Linked DNA regions of Homo sapiens: regions 2, 3 and 4 are each linked to region 1. The links are contacts of gene promoters, found by promoter capture Hi-C in human tissues and cell types (Jung and others, 2019). All regions are on one chromosome and are shown on one strand. Each heading gives the region's core, a stretch centred on a gene start or on the middle of the fragment in contact. The rest is flanking DNA. Distances are from core to core; before and after follow the strand shown. Region 1 holds the start of MACC1 (MET transcriptional regulator MACC1). Region 2 holds the start of TMEM196 (transmembrane protein 196). Region 3 has its middle 140 kb from the start of TMEM196. Region 4 overlaps MACC1-OT1 (MACC1 3' UTR overlapping transcript 1).

Evidence for each region. The method cuts DNA at HindIII sites, captures the fragments that hold promoters and counts their contacts. A contact is called where the count stands out against the background at its distance.
Region 2: the fragment with the promoter of TMEM196 here is called in contact with the fragment with the promoter of MACC1 in region 1 in 4 of the 25 tissues and cell types used here (liver, mesendoderm cells, neural progenitor cells and 1 more).
Region 3: a fragment that was not itself captured here is called in contact with the fragment with the promoter of MACC1 in region 1 in 3 of the 25 tissues and cell types used here (aorta, dorsolateral prefrontal cortex and thymus).
Region 4: a fragment that was not itself captured here is called in contact with the fragment with the promoter of MACC1 in region 1 in 1 of the 25 tissues and cell types used here (mesenchymal stem cells).

What each region holds. Positions count from the first base shown.
Region 1 is chr7:20,215,986-20,218,764 of GRCh38, reverse strand. It overlaps MACC1 (MET transcriptional regulator MACC1), which reads left to right and starts at 1,381. Exons shown (of 7, transcript NM_182762.4): 1 at 1,381-1,466. It overlaps GIRGL (glutamine insufficiency regulator of glutaminase lncRNA), which reads right to left and starts at 1,188. Exons shown (of 4, transcript NR_134569.1): 1 at 1,143-1,188; 2 at 402-509. RefSeq lists an enhancer at 357-1,556. The HindIII fragment of the contact is 10,614 bases long and covers 1-1,787 here.
Region 2 is chr7:19,772,159-19,774,937 of GRCh38, reverse strand. It overlaps TMEM196 (transmembrane protein 196), which reads left to right and starts at 1,321. Exons shown (of 5, transcript NM_001363562.2): 1 at 1,321-2,388. The coding sequence starts at 2,242. All of the region lies in intron 1 of LOC107986774 (a long non-coding RNA gene), which reads right to left. The HindIII fragment of the contact is 12,021 bases long and covers 1-2,779 here.
Region 3 is chr7:19,914,468-19,917,246 of GRCh38, reverse strand. No RefSeq gene overlaps it. Among named protein-coding and RNA genes, the nearest start is that of TMEM196, 140 kb to the right of the region's middle. The HindIII fragment of the contact is 6,210 bases long and covers 1-2,779 here.
Region 4 is chr7:19,938,448-19,941,226 of GRCh38, reverse strand. The region is part of intron 5 of MACC1-OT1 (MACC1 3' UTR overlapping transcript 1); the gene reads left to right. Among named protein-coding and RNA genes, the nearest start is that of TMEM196, 170 kb to the right of the region's middle. The HindIII fragment of the contact is 6,182 bases long and covers 1-2,779 here.

The sequences.
Region 1 (2,779 bases), core at 132-2,631:
TGAAGAGTGTTTTTCATTGAGCTTTGGAAAAAATGAAATCTCTGAACATTTCAAGATGAGCAAAAATGGTTTCAGGGAGGAGAAATGCCATGCAGAATGCCCTCTGTAGGGTTTGGGGAAATTAAGAACCATTTGTTTTGGAAATAATATAATGACATAAAGGAAAGCTAGGTTCTAGTAGAGAGTTGAGGAACCTGTGACAAAAAGAAACAGAACAGCTCAGTTTGGATTGTGGGATGAGTCAAGGGGAAACTTCAAAGGGAATCTGGGTGGATTAGGTGATCTGGCAGCATGAAGCCAGGGATGCATCAGGGAGGAAGGGGTGGTTAGAACAGTAGGAGAGAAAGTGCAGAAAAGGGAAAGGAAACTTTTTCTTTGTCACCATTCTGCCATCTACTTACATTAGATGAATCCTTCTATTATGTTTCTGAACCCAGACCCAGCCAGGACTTGTCTCTATTCATTTTCTGGGCTGTGTCTAACAGGAGATAATAGGCTAGAGAGAGATGCTGTATGAACAAATAGAGAAACACATTTGTTTTAAACATTCTCTGTTGCTGATGTTGGAAAAAAATGTGAAACAATTATTGCACATTTCATTTCACTAAGTTTTACCTTTTTTCCCCTTTCCCCTAATTTTCTCTTTCTTGAATTTTGAACAAAATACACAGAAGGAAAACACAAAACACAGAAATGGAAAGTAAAATGGAAGAAAATATCAAGAAAACTTTATTCTTGCTTATATTTTAAAAGGCACATTTTAAAGTGTTATCTTAAAAATCCAGAGCATTTTAGAAGATGAAATGCCAAAAGGTCTCCATTATGTCTATATGTCTATGTCTTTGAGTGACAATCACAGTGCTGATGTAGAGGGAAAGGGGGAACTAGTTAGACACTGTCACTCACCTGGGAAGGCTTTATTCACCTGTTCCACAGGGCAGTGAGGCACCTTCAGCTCTGAATCACCGAAAGAGAATCTGGTGGGGCAAGTTCCAGCTGCATGAGGATTTGCTTGCATAAATATTTTTTACTTATTGCTAACACTGAGGGTGCCTTCTTACTCCCTGGCAAACATTAAACCACTTTTATTTCCTTTCATGGAAATAAGATTATATTTACAGATGGTTCTTAGATATACTCACCTGATTTTTTTTTAATTGCTTTTCCACCTGCTTCCCCTTTCTTCTTAGGGTGAAACTCTAGCCATACGCCCTCTTCTGGTTTCGGGTGAGGAGCCTGAATTGTGGGTATCGTAGTTCTCTTGCCTTTTGGGGTTTCTAGTTGGGCAGCTTTGGAGCCACAGTGGTAGAACTTCAAGTCCCAGGTGGCTCAGGAAGCAGGGGTGCAGTTGCCTGCCTGCATACGGAGCAAGGCATGTTTGAAGAGTACCCGGGTTTGGTAGAGTGACTTCTATTCACTAAAACCATGTGTCTGAACTGAAGAAGCTTGGGCTCACTTCCACAAATGTAAGTGCTGATTTTTTAAAAATAATATTCCTTTCACTATTGATATGTGCTACACACTAGGAAGTTGTATAATTTCCAGAAAAATGTAACAAACCAGCTGCTTAACAAATCAAGCCCTGCTTAAATAAAGGGAAGGTAACTGGTATTCTGTGGGCTTATGGGACATGTGTTAGAATAAACCTCATGACATAGAATAGAATAATACCTTGAGACATGGTTTAGAATAAAGTAGTTTATTTTAAAAAAAAGGAGGAACCCAGGTCACATTAACCATCAAAGGCAAAAACAAAACACTCTATGAGTTGCTTAAAATATGTAGATGGCTGAAATCCCCTAAAAACTTTAAATATCTCAAAAAGCATACAGGTATGTTAAAAAGACTGTGCTTTGAAGATAGATAAAGTTGCAATCAGCAGCCCCACTGCTTATTAGATTTATGACCATTGACAAGATGTTTCACCTCGCAAAGTCTCAGTTTCCTCATCTGTAAAGTGTGTGTGCATAACCTACCTCATTAGGTTAATAGCATTAAATTATGAATAAAAGATAATCATGTAATTAAGTTAAGGGGGTCATTAAATTAGCACAGTGCATTGTACTGAATAGACAGATGATACATGATGGAGGGTAACTTGGCTTCATCCTAATTAAGTTTCAATTAAGCTTGGAAAACACACCAAAGAAACAAAAAGACAAATACTGGATGATTCAACTTACCTGAGGTATCTGGAGTAGTCAAACTCACATAAATGATACTTAGAATGGTAGTTGCCAGGGGCTTGGGGGAAGGAGAAATGAGAGTTGTTTAATGGATATAGAGTTTCAGTTTACAAGATGAAAACACTTGGAGACTGTACAATAATGTAAATATATTTAATACTATTGAACTTAAAATTTGTAAGTGTAAACACTTACAAATGGTTAGGATGGTAAATTGTATGTTAAGTTTTTTACCACAATTAATAAAGATAGATTTTAAAAAATTTATTTTTAAGATCAAAAAGCATGTAGTGAAAATTCCAATGCCTTCCATTTATTAAAGGTCTTCCTAATTTCCTAAAAATGTCTTAAGTCTATATTCAGTGGGTCTAATTTAGGATTGATATTGACTTATCTATGTTAATGTCTGGTTTTTACATAGCAATTACTGGGTGATAATGATGAATTTCAGGTATATTCTTAAAGTTGTCTTAACCTCAGTGGTGATTCTTTTATGCCCCCCTGAACTTAATTACATGATTATCTTTTATTCATAATAGCGATTTTTAATATGATTTCATGGGTAGTGTACAGAATCTAGAAATTATGAAGTC
Region 2 (2,779 bases), core at 72-2,571, 440 kb after region 1:
AGTGACTAAACACAAAGCAAAACTTCAACAACATATATGCTGTATTATTTATGCATATAAATTGGATCATTTAGATGACTTCTGTATTATTTAAATTAAATAAACTTTACATCATTAAAGCCATACACTAATGAGGTACTTTAGCATGTCTTTGAGGATTTAAAAGCATAGAAATGAATCCACTAATTATCATTCAGTACCAATGTTTATTTGTACTCCAAATATCACAATAACTGAAGCTCTTTAAGGCCTAACAAATTGTAACTCTTCTTCCTTACATTTGTTTTATTTTTAAGAGAAAAGGATTCAAATTTTTAAATTATAGAATATAAACATATGAAAAAAATTATAGTGTAGAATTGAGTTTAAACTCTAAAAGAAGCCCTTAATCAAATTTAAGAAAACTGAAACTGGCATTTATGTTACAGAACTTATGCTATAGGTCACCGAGCTTTTATGTTCTCATCATGGGAGCTTTAAGAAGCCTCTAATAGAGGCGCCTGCACTGCACTGATGTATAGAAGTCAACATTCCCTAGTCTTGTGTTATTGTACCCTAACCTCATCTTCCTTTGTTCTATTTTCCTTCAGTCCATGTCGAACTGGAGAACCCAGTTTTTGAGAAAGATGACCCACACCCAAAACCCTCTCTTTATCCCACTTCCTAGATCTCCTTGATAGAATACCTTGAGATTTTTCATAAAACTAGAGTAATGAAAATGGGGTCTAAACACAGCGATCCCTAGACATCTAGAGTCTCATAGGCATCAAAAGACAATGCAAAAATATCCCAGGCCAAGCTGGACTGGCCCCTGCCCTAAAGATTCTGATGAAAGTAGACTGTCAAAAATAATTGTGCATTAAGCCAGACGTGTTTTTTTTTTAAATAATGCCTGTTCTAATGCATACACATCTCTTGAATTTTGTTGAGAATATATAATCCCAGCTCAGTTGGGTCTAGCTATGCCTCCCAGAACGTGTGGTCACGCTCCTAGGGGAAAGCAAGGGTCTGTGGCTGGAGAGGAACAAAATCACCGTGGAGGTGTGGCCCCCATCAACTGCTTCTTCGCCCTACGACACGGAAGGTGACAGGCTGTGATGGCCGGGAGTGGACATTCCTTGTAAGCAGGCTTGAATCTAGCTCTCCTAGACAGGGGAGTTCCTTGGTGAGGGGCCTTGAGAGTCCTAGTGACATTAGGAGTCTGGCTTTTTCCACCCCCCTGGGGTTTCCGTCTTTCTTTGCTCACTGCTCCCCCTACCCCGCGTACAAGCTAAAGAAAGTTTTTCTCAGAATGAGCCCGCGTTGACGTAGGCATCGCCTCCCCTCTCCGCTGGATAGAAGCCCAGAAAGGAGCCACGGGGAGAAGCGGAGGTAGGGGTCGCCTGGATTTCTGTTGCTGCGGTCCGGGGGCGGGGCGGATCAAAGGCCAGCCAAGAGTACTGGTCCTGGATCTACAAATACATTAGGCTTTTTCCTCCTCCGTCAACCTCCTAAACCCCAATGAGGTCATAGCAATGAAAGAGAATCAGCTCGAGAGAAAGGAGGAGGAAGAGGACGACGACGAGGGAGAAGAAACCCAGACGGAAAGAGGCCATCAGACAAGGTCGCTTTTTCTGGCGACAAAGCAACTGCAAGGAGCGTGGTGCTGAATATCATCCGCCCGCTCTGCCTGGGGACCCAGAGACTTGCAGAAGCACTTCGCATTGCCACGAAAACAAAGGAGAGGTGACGAACGGGAGAGGGAGAGAGAAACTCGGAGCGGTTCCCTTTGGATCTCCGGGAAGCAAAGCTCCTCTCCTCGGCAATAAAACAGAAGGGACCCTGTGAAAGGGTCTAGTAGGCTGAGGAGGGCGCGGGTTTCCCTGCGGAGATTTGGGACGCGGCAGAACTCTGGACAGCGCCTGGGGAGCAAGGCTCGGAGCTCCCTGGGCTCCTCCAGGTTTTCCGCTGCTTAAAAGCCCCGGTACCGGTGTGCAATCTTCGCACCACCGAACCCAGGAAGATCCTTCTACGATCCCTATCTGAACGTGCCAGGGGGTGGAGCAGCTCCTTTGCCTCTGGCCCAGCCAGGGAAGGTCTTCGTTTCTGGAAATCCAGCCCTTGTGGATAATGCCTCGCTCTTGAAGAAAGAAAAGTTTTGGGATCTGGTAGGGGGTGGAAGGGGTAAGGAGGATAGTGGAAGAAAAAAAGGTAGATGGTTGATTTCCCTCTCTGATCTGGAAGGAAGATGACCGAGGAAGGATGTGCACCAGCGGTCAGATTATTGGGAGCCTCTTGGTGCTCTCCGTGCTGGAGATAGGGCTGGGGGTGTCCAGCGTGGCCGTGGGGGCGGTCAGCTTCAGCCTGGCCCTCCGAGAGCACAAGCCGCAGCTCGGAGACTCGTCCCCGGTATGGAGCGGGGTGTGTGTACGTTGAGCCATTTCACTCTCTCTTTACCTCTTTACGGTGATGGTCAGGGTGCGCGCATTAGTCACTCCCTCCCTGGGAAACAAAATCATAGATCTCTGGCTTGCATGTAGGTTCATGCTGACAAGCTATGCTTCTTTATATTGTCCTTTATTCGTTTTCTGTTTTGTTTTGTTTTGTTTTGTTTTGTTTCTTACTTGGGCTTAAGACCAAATTAAATGGCTTTGTTTAAAGGTGGGGGTGGGGGGTTAGTTTCCACTGGCTGATTCTACAAAAGGCTGCTTTGCCCAGTGGTGCTGTTTGGGAGGCGGGGGGAGGGGGGTGTCACACCTGTCAAGGGCAGGCTCACTTAATCTTTTGTTCCTTCTACAAG
Region 3 (2,779 bases), core at 106-2,605, 300 kb after region 1:
GTTTCTTCCATCTTCTTCAGTCTTGGCTTAGGAAAAGAATACCATGCAGAACCCGTGATGAAATAAATTATTAACAGACCCTACAATCTTTTTACCTAGACCTTAGAAAAATAATTATGAATCCCCCAATTACATGTTAACAATGAGCAATGATTGATATGAATTTGAGGATCTATGTTTATTAGATGAAGATCATCACTAAAAAATCCAATTTATTCATAAATAAATGAATAAATTACCCTTTTATTTATTTGTCTTTGTTGAGACTTACAACAGTCTCATGTTCACTCATTTTAAGATTCAAATAACTAAGCAATATTGCACTTATATTAGAAAACAATCATCCTTCTGGATTTTCTGTCTAATAACAGACAATAAAAATGTGCAAAATAATTAGCAATTTAAAATATAAGTGAGAAATTTTGTACATCTTACAGAATGATTGGATAAATTTAAAATTATATTTTAGTAATCACTGGTAATGTCATTGCAAAGATATGAACTTGCATGAAATTGTTCTGGCCCTTATTCTGTAATGGGCATTGCCATCTGTTCAGCATAATCAGTTCTTTCATACTTCCCTGATAAATGAAAACAATACAAATTTCTATTGAAACAATATATCAGGGAAAGAATATGTTCTACTGAATGAGGAAACTAAAAAAAGAAAGTCATATTCAGCAACCTGGGATGATTTCTTTCAATTTTAAAAGTTCTGAGACCAATAACTTTCCTTAAGAGGAAAGCTTTATAAAATTGGTTGAAAATTCAACAAAAAATAGCTCCTGTTATCAAGTCCATAAGTATCTTATGTCCATTTAAAAACTGAAGGAATAGCTTTTTCCATAATCCTTTGACATTTTTATGCGCACTGCTTCCATGATCAAGCCATTTGGCAGTAATAAAACAGAAAGCTGGCTCAACCATTATCCTCCACATTAAAAAAAAAAACTGTTTTGTTCTTTTCTACTAATGCCAACTCATTTGATGATCTGCACACACATTAATTAGAGCTGTTAGGTATGTGCAGAATGTAATGTGTCAACCAGGTCAAGGCTGATTCTAGATGTGACTCACAGGCCAGAAATGAATGGCAATTTTTACTTTTCCTTAAGTGTGAATCCACACTTTCAATCAGTTTTTATCACCATGCATAATTCCACCTTTCATCTTCATTTTTATTACCAATAAAAATATCAGACCCTAACTTTCTATATGAATTTTTTTTCTGCTGCCTAAAGTCCCCATTTTCCTTCTTAAACTGTCAATGGCATTTAGTTTTTAACTTTTAAAATTACTCTTCAAAGGTTTTTATTGATTTGACACTTCTTCTCAATTTATTGGGCTTCTTCTCAATTCAGAAGTAGACAAAAAAGGAGACAAAAAGCAACTCACTGCTGTAAAGGGTGATAATAAAAGGGAAAGTGCAGAATGCTGCTAAATGATTGATAAGGAAATTCCAAGGTAAGTCTCCTGGGAACAGGAAAGTCCTCCTTGAAAATGCAGGCTTTAGTTAGAATCTTAAAGGAAAGGAGTCAGCTAGGAAGAGTCAGGCAAGGGGATAGAGAGAGTGTTCCAGGTAGAAACAGAATGCACAAAACATGCAAGATGAGCTTTTTTAATTTTTATTTTTTAAAGGCATATATGTCTCTGTTTTCAGCTAAATTGAGATCCCTGTGGACAAGAAGACAAGGCATAGATTTTTTCTTCTGTCTCTCGTATCTTTTAAAACACCTCCACTTAGTAACTTAATACAGGAATATCTCATTTTATACTGTTTAACTTAATTGTGTTTCACAGATACTGCAGTTTTTAACCAATTGAAGGTTTGTGGAAACTCTGTATCAAGCAAGTCTATTGGGGCCATTTTTTTTGTAACAGGATGTGCTCACTTCATGTCTCTGTGTCAGATTTTGATAATTCTCATATTATTTACAATATTTTTATTATTATTATACCTATTATGGTGATCTGTGATCAGTGACCTTTGATGTTACTTTTGTAATTGTTTGAGTGCACCATGACAATGAACTAAATCAATGAATGTGTGTTTTCCGAGTGCTCTACCAAATGGCCACTCCCCCATTTCTCTCCTGCTCCTCAGGCCTTTCTATGTCCTCAGACACAAGAATATTGAAATTAGGCCAATTAATAGCTCTGCCATGGTCCTTAATTGTTCAAGTGAAAGAAATGGTTAGATGTCTCTTACTTTTAATCACAAGCTATAAATGATTAAGCTTAGTGAGGAAAGAACATTGAAAGTTGAGACAGGTCAAAAACTTAGCCTCTTGCACCAGTTAGCCAAGTTGTGAATGCAAAGAAAAAATTATTTAAGAGAATTAGAAGTACTACTCCAGTAAATACATGCAAATAATAAGAAAGCAAAACAAACCTATTGCTGTTATGGAGAAAGTTTTAGTGGTATAGATAGAAGATCAAACCAGCCACAACATTCCCTTAAGCCAAAGTCTAATCCAGAACAAGGCCCTAACTCTTCAATTCTGTGAAGGCTGAGAGAGAAGAGGGAGCTGAGAGGAAAAGATTGATGCTACACAGGTTGATTTATGGGGATTAAAGAAGGAAGCCATCTCTAGAACATAAATGTGGAAGGTGCAGCAAGTGCTGATGGAGAAACTGAAGCAAGTTATCCAAAAGATCTAGCTAAGATAATTGATGAAGGTGGCTACACTAAACAACAGATTTTCAATGTAGATGAAACAGCCTTCTATTGGAAGACGATGCCATCTAGGACTTTCATAGCTAAAGAGAAGTAAATGCC
Region 4 (2,779 bases), core at 96-2,595, 280 kb after region 1:
GCAAAAAATTCCGTTATTAGCATATATTGATGCATTCAGTAATAGGTTGCTCAAAACTTATTGACTGACTGCCTAACACCTATAGAGACTAATGAAAAGCCAAAGGATATGATTACTGGCTTCTCTCTATTTACCTTTACTTTATGTCTCCCTATTTATTCCAACAATTAAAGCAAACAGGAGGGAGAGAGTTTGCTTGGACAAAACAATGTTATAGGGAATGTAGCTGATAAATCTTAACCTTCATCTCAGCAGAAGAGCACCCCAGGCAGCAGCTGGGTGTTTTTGCTTTTGCTGATTTTTAAAATAAATGAAAATGAACTGCAAGTTATAACAGGAAAGCCTGACCTACACAAATAATAAGACACCCCACTTAACCTGTGCAATCAATACAGCCTCACGCAGGAAAAGTGCTGGGGAAGCTGGCTAGACACCCAGGGTAAATCCAGGCAGAGTGAGTGTTCACAGCAAGGCAGCCCTAAACTTGTGTTTGTCTCTGCATTTCTCTCTGGTTTGTCCATGAATCCAAAAAGGCTTAATTGAGTTCCTTTTTTCCTCCCCTGAACACATAATTAGTATTTGTTCCGAGTCCTCTGTTATTATCTCCTATCCGGTTTCCCTCTGCCCATCTGAACCACATTAATTCTGAGACTTATCTTTTCTATTTTCCTTATAGAAAGAAAATGATCTCTATGTAAACCTGAACAATTCAGGTTTTCTAGGCCTCCTGTCCTTCCTTGGCAACTTAATAGTTTAATACATTAAATCTCTTTACTACATGTTTACTATATGCCTCGTGCCATGTTAAGCACTGGAGGACAAAAAGAAAAGCAGAAACAGTGGAAAAGGCATGATGTCTGTTTCCAAGGATTATGGTAAGGTGGGTACTAAGAAGTAAGGAAATTAACCGTGGTGGGGTATGGGATTCAGATAAGCTTTTGGGACACTTTGCAAGGCAAGAAAGGGACTATGAGGGAGCAGGTGGTCACCACTCCTCAAGAGAGTTGTGCTTGGCTCAGGGCCTACAGGCCACACTGCTGCTATGTTCCAGGAGAAGACCCCACCCCTTGACGGCTCTTTTGTTTTTAATGCACATGCTGACCCTGAGAATGCCTTATGATGTCTGACCTAGGCAACTGGTTGTCTGAGTTAAGGATCCTGCAGATCTTTAGGAAATTGCTGGGAAAGGCAAACTGCCCAAATATCACATGTCCCAAGGATGACTGGATGGTTGTAGCCCTCCCACTGGAGGGAAAAAGACTCATGTCTCATGCTTGTTGAGTCAGGGGATGGAATTCCTTGGGAACTGATCACAGACAACCCTGCTTTTCACTTTATAATGAATGTTCATGCATGCTCTAGGTTATGTCACAGAAGATGATCCTGGCTTCTGTGAAGACAAGTGAAAGTAAACATTGAAAATAGACAGGAAGGGAAAGGAGGGATTTAGCAATGACCCACCAAGCAGATGATGCTTTACAGTCAGGTGCTGTGGGAAATGTATTAACAACATCAGCGCTTATTTTTTTTTACATTGTTTTCATGTTTAAACTTTTTGAAATAAATAAGAAAATTTCATTATAGTCTAGGAAAATGAGGCTTGTAAAGATCAAGAGGACTTTCTGCATTCACACAGATGTATGAATAGAATATTCAAGTATATGACTCCAAGCCATGTTCCTTTGCTAGTAGATGCTTAATGCGGAGCACCATGAAATACACATTTCCAGTGCCCTGTGAGAGTCATATGATGCTTTCCATTGAGCCAAACTTTGCAACTAGGATGAGGACAGATAGGAAACTTAGAGACTATTTTTAATAACAAAATTCCAGTTGGTATTTAGAGGAAAATGTTGTTGCCTAAAACAGTTTCTGATACATAGGGTTAATTATCACTTATTTGATATTATAATAACTTAGAGTAATAATACAGATTTTATATTTACTTTTAAATGAAAGGGTGATTACTATGGCAAAATGGGAGAAGCCATGGGGTCTATGGCTCAACCTCAGATTTGTTATGTGACTTGTGAAAAATCTCTTAATATGTTTTAGATTTCTGTTTTTGAGAGAAGTGAGAATAGAAATACCCATTTCAATTTTTGTGGTCTGTGTTTTTCATGCTAGCAATGGGAACTCACTCTGAGAGACAGGATTAATACCTGTAGATAGATACACAAATTTTTTAATGTACTATGAACATACTGAACTACAGAAGTTTTAAAATATGTAATAATCTTGGCCCTTGAAAAAATGTTTATTCCAATTAGAGTCAAGATGAAAACAGAAACAGAAAACATCATTATCACTTCAGAGGAAGGAGATTGAGGTAGTTGGCTCAATACTTGAATTTTCCCTTAATATACAGATATAAGTCTAAGAGATAAGGAGGGCTACCTGACCAGAAAAGATGATTATAAGCCCTGTTCCTCACAGTCTGTTTTTAAATGTTATATGAACGATGTTACTGGGTTCAAATAAATTTGTTTCTTTTAGGTTTTCCTCTAGTAGTTTCATAGTTTTGGGTCTTACATTTAAGTCTTCAATCCATTTTGGGTTGCTTTCTTTTGTATATGGTGAGTCATAGGGGTCTAATTTCATTCTTCTGCCTGTAGCTATCTAAGTTTTCTCAGAACCATTTATTGAAGAGACTGCCTATTCCCCAATGTGTGTTCTTGGCACCTTTGTCAAAAATAAGTTGAGTGTAAATATGAGGATTTATTTTGGGGTTCTTTATTCTGCTCCATTGGCCTATATGTTTGTTTTTATGGCAGTATCA